4 separate regions of the Homo sapiens genome follow, and regions 2, 3 and 4 are each linked to region 1. The links are contacts of gene promoters, found by promoter capture Hi-C in blood cells and fetal thymus (Javierre and others, 2016). All regions are on one chromosome and are shown on one strand. The core of a region is centred on a gene start or on the middle of the fragment in contact, and the rest is flanking DNA. Distances in the headings are between cores, read along the strand shown.

What was found. Contacts are between HindIII fragments. The CHiCAGO score rates a contact against its expected background, and 5 or more counts as called.
Region 2: a fragment that was not itself captured here is called in contact with the fragment with the promoter of HAUS6 in region 1 in 1 of 17 cell types (total B cells); the score reaches 5.0 in total B cells.
Region 3: a contact is called between a fragment that was not itself captured here and the fragment with the promoter of HAUS6 in region 1, in 2 of 17 cell types (M0 macrophages and monocytes). The highest score is 7.8, in M0 macrophages.
Region 4: a fragment that was not itself captured here is called in contact with the fragment with the promoter of HAUS6 in region 1 in 1 of 17 cell types (neutrophils); the score reaches 8.4 in neutrophils.

The regions. Positions count from the first base shown.
Region 1 is chr9:19,101,419-19,104,267 of GRCh38, reverse strand. It overlaps HAUS6 (HAUS augmin like complex subunit 6), which reads left to right and starts at 1,364. Exons shown (of 17, transcript NM_017645.5): 1 at 1,364-1,744. The coding sequence starts at 1,617. RefSeq lists an enhancer at 1,122-1,685. The HindIII fragment of the contact is 8,228 bases long and covers 1-2,849 here.
Region 2 is chr9:20,622,814-20,625,562 of GRCh38, reverse strand. No RefSeq gene overlaps it. Among named protein-coding and RNA genes, the nearest start is that of MLLT3, 1.7 kb to the right of the region's middle. RefSeq lists silencers at 2,466-2,605, 2,626-2,749. The HindIII fragment of the contact is 1,902 bases long and covers 426-2,327 here.
Region 3 is chr9:20,989,111-20,992,224 of GRCh38, reverse strand. FOCAD (focadhesin) reads right to left here. Exons shown (of 44, transcript NM_001375567.1): 42 at 1,851-2,102. Among named protein-coding and RNA genes, the nearest start is that of HACD4, 41 kb to the left of the region's middle. The HindIII fragment of the contact is 1,067 bases long and covers 901-1,967 here.
Region 4 is chr9:20,684,139-20,687,225 of GRCh38, reverse strand. It overlaps FOCAD (focadhesin), which reads right to left and starts at 2,967. Exons shown (of 44, transcript NM_001375567.1): 1 at 2,933-2,967. It overlaps FOCAD-AS1 (FOCAD antisense RNA 1), which reads left to right and starts at 2,476. Exons shown (of 2, transcript NR_121601.1): 1 at 2,476-2,658. RefSeq lists an enhancer at 2,525-3,087 and a silencer at 2,665-3,087. The HindIII fragment of the contact is 8,422 bases long and covers 1-3,087 here.

The DNA.
Region 1 (2,849 bases), core at 115-2,614:
ACATGTTGGTCAGGCTGGTCTCGAACTCCCCACCTCAGGTGATCCGCCCACCTTGGCCTCCCAAAGTGCTGGGATTATAGGCGTGAGCCACTGTGCCCCGCCTCTCTCTCTTTTATTAAGGTGATTTTAGTGAGGCAGGAGACAATCATTGCCAGAGGTAGCAATGAGACTTAAAAGCAGGTTACCCAATCCACTTCCAGGCCCTGTTGTCAGTGGGGTTTGTGGTAGGCAACAGCTGTCAATTAAGACGACGGGCCGGGTGCGGTGGCTCACGCCTATAATCCCAGCACTTCGGGAGGCCGAGGAGGGCGGATCACGAGGTCAGGAGATCGAGACCATCCTGGCTAACAGGGTGAAACCCCGTCTCTACTAAAAATACAAAAAATTAGCCCGGCGTGGTGGTGGGAGCCTGTAGTCCCAGCTACTCGGGAGGCTGAGGCAGGAGAATGGCGTGAACCTGGGAGGCGGAGCTTGCAGTGAGCCGAGATTGCGCCACTGCACTCCAGCCTGGGAGACAGAGCTAGACTCCGTCTCAAAAAAAAAAAAAAAAAAAAAAAAAAAATTAAGAGGACTGCAGGCGGCCAGGCGCAGTGGCTCACGCCTGTAATCCCAGCACTTTGGGAGGCCAAGACCGGCAGATAACCTGAGGTCAGGAGTTCGAGACCAGCCAGCCAACATGGTGAAACCCCGTCTCCATTAAAAATACAAAAAAATTAGCCGGGCGTGGTGGCGGACACCTGTTAATCCCAGCTACTCGGGAGGCTGAGGCAGGAGAATCGCTTGAACCCGGGAGGCGGAGGTTGCAGTGAGCCGAAATCGCGTCACTGCACCCCAACTTGAGCAACAAGAGCGAAACCCCGTCTCAAAAAAAAAAAAAAAAAAAAAAAAGACTGCAGGACTGCAGGGGAGTATAGAGCCAGATTTCATTTAAAGCAGGAAAAGGAACATCCGGCATTTGAGGACATAGATTTCGCTAACGACAGAAATGAGGCTCAGAGATTACGTGACTTGATTAGAGTCACAGTGAGCATAGCGGAGGATGGAACCAATGCTTTAACTCTACACCGAGGCATAGTGCTCCATTTATGGCTTTTTTGTGACGTAACAACTAGGATACACAAGCAAATGGACCCCACTAACCAAGAATCAGAAACCCGAAGGCCCGAGGATCTGGGCACGACAGCGGTTAAGCAAGCGCAGAGCAAGTCGCTGGCCGCGCAATGCCCGGTGGGTCTTGCAGTTTCTTGGCTGGGCATGGCCGGAAGGGAGGAGAGAAGGACGCATTGCATGGCGGGAGATATAGTCTTTGCCGGAAGTCCCTCCTCCCTCGGACGCCTGGCGGCGCCGGCGCACACTGCTCTTCCTTAAGGGCGGGAGTCTCGGTTTGTGGTGGCTTCGCTGAGGCAGTGGTGGCCGCACTATACCGTTAGAAACTCAATTTCCCGGAGGTTGTGAGGCCCTTTGAGGCGAAATCGCTCTGGGCGTGAAAGGAGCAGGCGTTGGCAATGGAAGGACCACCGCGACCTCAGGCTGACCGTAGGGAGGGATCTTGAGGGCCCTCCGAGTCCCCTGGGCTTGCGCTTTCTTTCTTTGCAGCCACCGTGCCTACCGCGAGGATGAGCTCGGCCTCGGTCACCGCTTTCGAGAAGGAGCATCTCTGGATGTATCTGCAGGCGCTCGGCTTCGAGCCAGGCCCGGCAACCATTGCCTGCGGAAAGATCGTGTCGCACACGCACCTCGGAGTGTAAGGAGGCCGGGGCCGGCGGGGCGAGGGAGCCTGAACCGGGGGACGCCGGGGGACTCCCCCTTTTGTAGACCCCGGAGGTTGATTAATCAGAATTGGTTGAGCAGTTACTCTGTGCCAGGCATTGGCTCCAAAGTTCCTACTCCCAGTTGCTGCCAGCCTAGGGGCAGAGACAGACAGTAAATAATGCAAGAGTGCCGGAAGCGCTCTGTAGGGGAGTGCAAAAGTCTGCAGATGGGGAGAGTGCAAGACTGGAGGAGCAGCTTAACTCTGCCTATGTGGTGGAGGGGTGGTCTGTGAAGTAGTGGGAGGGATGGCGGGTGGTAGTGGAAGAGCATGGGAACCATATGTACAAAACACCTTTTGGACTCAAGGGAGCCTTTGAAGGTGGTTGTTTAATTTTATAATTTTTAATTTTTTAATTAGTAAGGCATGTTGGAGTTAGCATAAAACAACGGAGAAGGGTATTAAAAACAAATACCCTTTTAAGAAAAGTATGGAAAGTAAAAGCCCCTTCCCTACTTTTTCCACTTCTGTTTTATCAACTTTAGCCAGTATCTCTATTTAATCATTCCCACTGTAGGCCAAGAGGAATTCTTTTCTTTCATATGGAGTCTCCCTCTGTTGCCAGGCTGGAGTGCAGTGGCACGATCTCGGCTCACTGCACCCTCCAACTCCCTGGTTCAAGCGATTCTCCTGCCTCAGCCTCCCGAGTAGCTGGGATTACAGGCACTTGCCACCACGCCCAACCAATTTTTGTATCTTTAGTAGAGACGGGGTTTCACCATGTTGGCCAGGATGGTCTCGATCTCCTGAGCTCATGATCCACCTGCCTCGGCCTCCCAAAGTGCTGGGATTACAGGCGTGAGCCACCGTGCCCGGCCTCTATTTTTTTAAAGTATTATTATTTTAGAGACAGTAGCTAACCATGTTGCCCAGGCTGGTCTCAAAATTCCTGGGCTCAAGCAATCCTCCTGCTTCGGTCTTCCAAAGTGCTGGGATTATAGATATGAGCCATTGTTTTTTGTTTTGAGACAGGGTCTCCCACTCTGTCGCCCAGTCTGGAGTGCAGTTGTGCGATCACAGCTCACTGCAGCCTCCAACT
Region 2 (2,749 bases), core at 127-2,626, 1.5 Mb before region 1:
AAGGCTGGAGCCAAAATGATGGTGGTAGGGCAATGGTGATGGTAGTGGTGGTAGTGATCTGTCACAGACACTGTTCTCTTTTATTCTTCATCACGATTTTTATTTGATATGTTAATTACTTTTCTGATCTTCAAACTAACCCCATGGTGCTTCATACTGTGCTATATACAACAGTATGAATTTTGGTAAGATAATTATTCTTTGGATAAGTAGATGATTTTATCCCTCACCACTTCCATTTTAGTTATTATATTACTATTTCTGTATTTAGCACTGAAGTTTGTCTTAAAATTTCTTTACAGTACATTTTCTATAACCACATTGTCAAGTACACAAAAGGTTATTTTCCACATTTTTACCTCACGTTAAAGTGTGAAGATCTGCACAGGAAATTAATCGATTTTAATTGTTTTTAATGGCAAGCTTATTAAAATAGGTTGTAATTAATAAATTGACAGACTTGCATAAATTTCTTTGTCCAAAGTTGAAGGGAGAGTATTCAGTCTTGTGTTTTCTTTTCTTTCTTTTCTCCCCCTTCCTGATCTTTTTGTTGTGAAGGGGTCACGTAAGGACGTCCGTGGAAGAGCTCCGTGCGCCATCTACTGACGGAATCTAAATGTCCAGTATTTGGAGATTGGGAGTAACTACGTTGGGTTGTTAGAGCATTCTTTGAGGAAGGAGGGGTACTGGGAAAATACCCTTTCAGACTCTATGGCTTATTAGTGATTGCTGGAATAAATCTGAATTCAGCAAACACATAATTCAAAAAAGAGACCTCTATCTGTTGTGCGGGTACAAGTTTTGGAGACAATCTCAAGAGAGTCCGGTGGCTGGCGCCGGAAGAAGTTAAACCCTGAAATGAACTCAAACGGGGAATGGGATTGTTGTTTTTTGCCTGTGTCCTGAGCTACACTCGCTGTTAATGGTTACTTCTTAATAAGAAATGGCTTTACTAATGGCACGTCCAGATAACCTTTAGTTTCCAATACTATTATTACAAAGGACTGCTCTCAAATTTGATTATTTTATGAAAAGTTTAATAATGCACAATAAATAGGTCCCCCCTTCACGTAGATACTACCCACACAGCTTGTCTCTGCGAATATAAACGTAGTCCTTGTACATACATACAGACACAGCGACGCATATACCTACAGGATGATATGCAGTTATGTATATGTGTGTCAGTTGACAAATCTAAGCCCTTGGATTTAGATTAAAATGTTTCTACCTTCAGTCGTTTGCTCCATTCTATGCTAAATCCTGTAGAAGGCTGGGAAGAACTGGGGACCTCAAGCCAAAGAAGTTTCTTGATTATAACTGACAGGCAGCGGAATATCAGTTTTAGGGAATCAAAAGTTGAGTTGGAAGGCTGCTGGTTTGGAAACTAAGGTTGGTTCCAAGTGGTCCGACCTGATTCCCAGGATCTTTGTGAGAGCTGCTGGGAGAACTGAAAATTAACAGCGAGGACACAGGACGCCCTAGGTAACGTCCTCCCCGCTATTCTGCTCTTCTCAATTCAAGGGCCGAGACAACTTGCTTTTGTGGAAAAGGGAAGTAAAGGGAAAAGAGGAAAGCAAGGAAGTTCAGTCAGAAAGAGGAAGAGGGACAAAGAGGAAAGAAAGGGACAAAGAGGAAAGAAAGGGACAAAGAGGAAAGAAAGAGGGACAAAGAGGAAAGGCAAGGAGAAGAGAAGGAAAAATCAAGGTTCAGCAAGAAGTTGGAAGGCGAGGGAAAAAGGGGAGTAAAGAGAAGGCAAAAGAGGTCTAAGGGCTAGGAAGATGCAAGGATCTTTTTTTAACGAACCAAAGTCACATCCATCTTTCACTTTCAAATCAATCGTCTAGATCTTATCCGTTTCCTTTTTAAAGGTTATCTGCGTCTGTAAAGGAAGCCAGTAGTTGATACTCCTCTCCGCGCCCCACGCGTGGCCGCGCTGTTCTATCTCCGGCCACTGAGATCAAATACAACGCGAGTGAGAACATTTGCAGAGGCGCGACTCTGGGAACACTCCTGCGACTGGCTGTCACCCGGGAGTCTAACCGGATTAATACTCAGAGATGGATTACGCTGGTTGTCACCAATACGCCTAAAGATTATAATCCAATTTACGCACATTACAGTCAGTATTAACTTTATCTGCTATTTTAAGACTCCCGGTTGCCCCGCGCGTCCTCAGAGGACAATCCTCCACGTTCTGATGCAACTCAGTAGGCTGTCAGGAGGGGAAGCCCCCCGAAGAAAACAACTCCAAGCCTGGTCCCCGAGGGTCTGTACCCGGCACTCCCAGGTGTCTTGCTTTCACCTGGGCACCGCTTTATGAAGCTTCCCAGCCGGGGATTACCAAAGCGGAAGGCGTTCCCTTGCAAGGAAATAGCATCCTTGTTTCTCCCTTGTTCATTTCATTTTCAAATTTTCGGTGGCGGTGGCAGAAGGGCGGGGAGTGAGGGTGGCGGGCGGGTGCCTGTGAGTGGATGGGGCAGGGGGCCAGGGGATCGTTGCGGGTTAGAACAGCCTCAGTCATTGCTATTTTCATGCTCGTTTTTTGCAGGATGGCATTTCTCTCGCTCTCTTTAAGTAAGTTTGTTTGGGTGTGAGTTCTTGTCTTTTCAGCACAAAACCACAGAAATACGTGGTGGAAAGTAAAAGAAAGCCCACTCCCTCCTCCCCGTGCGTACTAGCTAAGGACTTGATTTAACACCCCCTCTCCGGCTGCTGAGGGCTCTAAGCAGTGGCTACATTCCAGCAG
Region 3 (3,114 bases), core at 185-2,684, 1.9 Mb before region 1:
AGTTTGGCTGATCTCTCAGGATGCAGCCTGAATTGTTTTTGAATTAGATACAGGGTAATTTAATCAATGACTGAATGCTGCCAATCTTGGTTCACTAAAAACACATACATTGGTGATAGGTAATAGGCATTTTAGTTTCACATATAGAAGCTAGATTGAAGAAAGAGTAAAATAGGGAGAAAAAGAAAATATTCCTAATTCCCTGCTTTAATCAAAAATTTTTTTCTTTGTTGATTTTCCTTTTCTCAGTTTTGTGCTATAATATCCAACCGATAAGCAAAAAAGTCAAGCACTACAAATATATAATCAATGCAAGAGGTCTACATTGTAGTCCAAAGGGAACGTGGTATCCCAGTCCAGAAATAATATATGGGAAGACCACATTTAAATTTTTTTTTTTTTTTTTTTTTTTGAGACAGAGTCTCAATCTGTCAGCCAGGCTGCAGAGCAGCGGAGGGATTGCGACTCACTGCAACCTCCGCCTCCTGCGTTCAAGCGATTCTCCTGCCTCAGTCTCCTGAGTAGCTGGGATTATAGGCACACACCACCACACTCGTCTAATTCTTGCATTTTTAGTAGAGACAGGGTTTCATCATGTTGGCCAGGTTGGACTCGAACTCCTGACCTCACGTGATCTGCCTGCCTTGGCCTCCCAAAGTGCTGGGATTCTAGGTGTGAGCCACTGTGCCCAGCCAAAATTTGATTTTAAATGGGACACAAAGCACAAAATTTGGGGCAGCAATACTAATGCTTATCAGGTTTAAGAAAAATAAAAGGCATTTTAGTTGAGATACTTGGTGGAGTTGTGCATAGCTAAACTATGGGTCTACAGTTCAGAAATGTTTTTAAAGATTAATGTTCAGATTTCAAGAATAAGCAAAAAAAAGTTAGTTTGAAGCTTTCAACTTCATAAAAATCCAGTTTTGATTAAATGAGATTCAAAAAAGAATCTTTCAACCAACTGTATTAAGGACAGGTCAGAAACATATAATGAGAAGTACAGTAAGCACAGTTATGCTTTGCAGAACAGCTAGTAGCCTGGGGAACCTCAACATTAAAAACCAAAAAATGTTTCCTTTTGGGTCATATGTTTTAACAATTCAAAGTAACACATGTTCACATACAAAGCCCTCAACATGACGCAATGTCATCTTCCCCTTCACCCAACTCCTTCTCCCGCCCCACCCCTACTCCAGAAGAGGAACTAGACTGAACAGCAAACTAAACAATTTAGGTTTTCCTGAGGGCAAGGGTGATACTATCAGACCTTTACAAAGCTCTGTTTGGCATCTAGCACAGACCAGGGCACACTGGGTGCCTGGAGCATATCTGTGCAATGGAATAAGCTATGGGGAACCTTAAAGATGCTACAAGAAGATGGATGCTCCCGACCCACATTTCCTGGCAGAAAACTTCCTGACCCACCCAGGCATTGTTGATCAACTCCTTCCCTTGCTCATCACCACTGTATCTTACTTATCACACGATTTGCAATCCTGAATTTGCCTTCCCGTCGACCCTCACCTTGAGATTCTGAGCTCTGAGACATACTCACCCTTTCCTCCCCAGGATCAAGAAAACAAGTGCCTTCAATAAATGAAGTATGGACTTTTCCTCCACCTCACTCCCAGCTGTAAGCAAGCTGCCACCTTGTTGTTTAATCAGCAGTTGCCCCGAGCCTGGGCTAGCCTCAATCTCTGAGACTCTGCATCTGGCTGAGATATGGGGCTGGGTAGGAAAGTCTGTGGTGTGATTCAAGACGCACTTAACTCCCACCTCAATTCTACAGTAGAAACTGCTGAAGAGACAATGGCTGCCTGCCCTGCTAAGCAGGTGGCTGCCAGCCTCACCTTCTGGGTCTGTTCCTTCCATGGCTCTTTCTGCAGCAGCAGAGCCATGCTATTGGGAAGGAGAGTGAGAACCTCCTGCAGAGTGACCCTGTGCATTGGACTCCTGCCAAGGAAGCTTGGTACTGGCCCAGCCGGGCCATTCTCCTGATGCCATGGCAACCAACTGGCACTGAGGCCGAGGAGGAGAGGGGCAGTGTGGTCAGCCCATGCAACCACTGCGGTTGCAAATATCAGCAAGAAGAAGTCCAAAGCCTACGATGAAAATAGAAATGACGTTAGGTCATATTTTTTAACAATTCAAAGTAACACATGTTCACATACACAGCCCCTGTCGTGAGGCAATGTCATCTTCCCCTTCACCCAACCAGTCCCTCCTGCCCTACCCCCACCCAGAAGAGGAACTGAACTGAACAGTAAACTCAGTTTCCATGTTTAATGAAGATACATTTTGGGGCTTTAGAAGATTTTTGAAGTCCCTTTATGTGAAGGCAGAAGACCCAACAGTTTCATTATTATCGCTCTAACATTTCAGGAGAAACATCGTTTATTCAATTCCTAATCACATCAAGATCCAAACATTCCTCTGTTTTGATGTTTTCAAAGAGCTTACAAAATGAAGAAATATTTATGGTTATGTGGGCAAAACTAATTTTTAAAAATATGTATACTCTGATTCTACTTTTGAGCAAGTCTTTCTTCATTTTTTTTAAAAAATGTTTTAAGAAATGGGGTCTCACTATGTTGCCCAGAGTGATCTTGAACTCTTGAGCACAAGAAATCCTCCTGCTTCAGCCTCCCAAGTGGCTGGGACTATAGACATGTGCCATTGTGCCCAGCTTCTTCATGCATTTTAAACACCTGTCCAGGATCTATCCATTTAGATTTCAGACTAATCTAGACAATCATAGAAATGGTGATTATAGGAGCCACCTCTGAGTAGTTGGATTACTGTGATTTAAACTACACTTCTTTCTGCTTATCTGTATTTTCTCAGTGTTTTAAGGTTTTTGTAAGAAAACAGAGAAAGTTAATAAAAACTTAGGAAATCAGAAGAAAGAGGACAGATCACGCAAGTTCAAAAAAAGTTTAAAAAGTACTTCCTAATCTCTTAAAATTCCTAAACTCACAAATTAAAATTTCAAAAAGACATACAACTCTTCAGAAAAACTGGGCAGAACTTCAAAAAACATCCCAGGTTATGCAAATTTGACTCACACAGCAAACAGAATACTCATGAAGCATGCCTACAGAAAAAAAATTCTGC
Region 4 (3,087 bases), core at 570-3,069, 1.6 Mb before region 1:
ATCTATGCAAGTTGGATTCTCAATTTCCTTTGGCCTAAAGAAATGTTTTCTTTCATGAACAATGGAAAGCTATACAGTATTTAAAGTCAAGGGTTTTGGAACATCTTCAAAATATATAAAACTAAAGTAACTCAGACTAATTAAATGAAAGCCAATATAAACTTTTAAAATCATAAACACAATTTTATTACTTTCAATATGACCTGAGTAGGGGGAAAAAAAAAAAAAACTATGAGGCCAGAAGTACTTAGAGGGTTACAAAAACTACATTTCAATCCATTGTTTGAAAATAGATGGGCTCTTCCACATCACTTAAAACTTTGTTGTTTCAAATCATTTACATGGAGGAAATTCACAAATATCCCTTGTCCTATCAGCTTAGCAAATCTTGTTTCTTATCATGTGGAAATAGTAACAAAACCTCCATCAATCTATTACTAATTGTGAATCACAGACTTATACTCATATAAGTATACCATACTTTATTATACCATGCATCTCTAGATCTATAGATTTCTCATCTCCTAAAGAAATACTTACTACCCACTTGATCAAAATTTAAATTATCACCCTAATTTTCTTTTTGTGCTTAAACCAAGTTCTTTGTTATACATCAAGAAATACTGATTAAGATCAAGATTTGTTATAGACTAATAATCCTTAAACTATTATTTCCTTACACTTCCTCCAAATATAGTTATTATTTCTCATTGTGGTTTTTTCCCGCTAGAAGGTTAATGTCCTCAGCTCTTGAATTTTCCCCATTAACCTTGCAATCTTGATCAGGTCCATTTCTAGAACTGAAAGATGTAACACCAACGCGGAGGGATCACTTGAGGTCAGGATTTCGAGACCAGCCTGGCCAACATGGTGAAACTCCGTCTCTACTAAAAATACAAAAATTAGCTGGGTGTGGTGGCATGCGCCTGTAATCCCAGCTACTTAGGAGGCTGAGGCAGAAGAATCACTTGAACCTGGGAGGCGGAGGTTGCAGTGAGCCGAGATCGCAGCACTGCACTCCAGCCTGGGCGACAGAGTGACCCTGTCTCCAAACAAACAAAAAAATAGCAAATGCAAAATTTTAAGAAGTTATATTTTCTTAAATTTTCCAAACTCCTAATAGTGATATTAACAATTTAATTCAACTAATCACTTGTGGACAATATCCCAAAAGTATCATGAAGCTAAGAATATTATGTCTCAGACTGTTTCATAAATCATTTTAAACGGGGAAAAAGGCCAAACGATTTACCGGTAAGCACCATCAATCAATCAACAAATGAAAAACTCTGGTTATACGTCCATGAAAATTTTGATTTCAAACTATTTATTACAGGGCGCGAGGCTGTGTTCCGCCTCCTCCAGCTCCTCCTGATAACCTTTTGGTTATCAGGCGTCAACTGGAGACAACAATCAGTTAAAATCCAGTAAATTTGGGGTTAATGAAACAAATGTTAAAATAGATATAATATTGATAAACATTAGCCAAGAGATGGTAACTACCTAACATTGATTAAGTAAGCAAATAATCAAGGCAGAGGTTTTAGCTTCCACTAATCTATAAAAGCAAGTGAAAATGCTTTGAAAATTGCATTTTTATGCAATTGTTTCAATATCATACCTTTGTATGTAACATTAAAAAGCTCATGATTACTTCATTTCAAAATTCAGATGAGTCACAGTGCTTTCTACGCAGGAATTGGATGTGAATCAAAATTGTAAACATGCACTTGCTTGGTAGTCAAAAAGTGAATGTGGACAGATACAATGTTCGTTGACACAGTAAAACATAATCATAAAATGCATCCTGTGTTTTTAAAATAGTTACTTCCTGTTAACACAGTTCAGGAAACATGCCATCTACCCTCCTCTCCTGGAAAATCTCAAAATTATACTAATCCCATTCCTCTTCTTACAGATAGGCCACTGAAACCTGGAGTCATTACTGATACAGTTATCAGGATTACACCCTCAGAGCCACGATGGTTTCAGGGATACTAGAACCTGAAAATAACAAAAAAAAAAAAAATTTCCAACTCAAATCTAGACAATAAAACTAACATATAAACTGGAATAAAACGCAGGAAATGCCGATTTTAATACCTGGTATGAGGCTGACCATTAAGGCATCCATCAAAAAAGTTTGGAATGTATGAATGAATGACTGCATGAAATTGGCAGGATTTCATTCATTTCAAAAGCTCCAAATTCAGGAACCACACTGAGATATCAGGACGCCACAGCTGAAACTAAAACTCATGAAGGGTAAATGCAACATAACTGCACGTCTCCACGCGTTAGCTGCTGCGAAAATTTCAAAACATACATCTAACATACTCTTTCTTCAAGTAATTGCCGCAAGTGCGGACGGAGCCAGAGAACTAGGAGACTGAAAACAGGCCCTGCTCACCCATAAGCCTTTGCATTATAAGTGGACATGATCTGAGTGAGTCACCGGGAATGAGAAGGAGACAGTCACCCCAGGCCAGGCAGGACGCGGCCAGAATCTCCTGCTCTGCCCCCAACTAGGGAACCGGTCGAAGGAGAGTGGGACGACTGCAACCTGCTGCAGCTAAGTATGCAAGGATCGCGCCGACCGGCTTCCGAGTCGAGATCCCACTAAGTCCCACCGCAGTCACCACAGCCAGCCCTGCCCAGGTATCTCGGAGCTCCGTAACCTCAGAAGGCCTAGTCCTCCAGAAGCTGAGAGCCCCAGCAGGACCGGACGAGGGCAAAAAGCCCCCTCCCGGCTGCCCCTCGCCGCGACGCGGCCCTGCCGCCACATGCTCCACTGCCCCGTCTCCCAGCTCAGCCCCAGCCCCGCAGGGCCTCAGCCGCCCTCCATGCAAGCCGACCGGGCCGCAGGCGGCGCGACCCGGCGGCTCCCGAGCAGGGGTGCAGCGGTGGCAGCCCGCCGCCCCGCACGGCTTACCTCCCTTCTGCCACAAGCTCAGCCCAGCGCCGGCTGCCTGACGTGGCCCGCCCCGCCGCCTCGAACGCCCGGGGGCGGGGACTGCAGGAGAGAGCCAATGGGCTGCATATCGCGAGGCCCTGTTCCGCCTCCTCCGGCTGGGGCCCGCCCTCCCC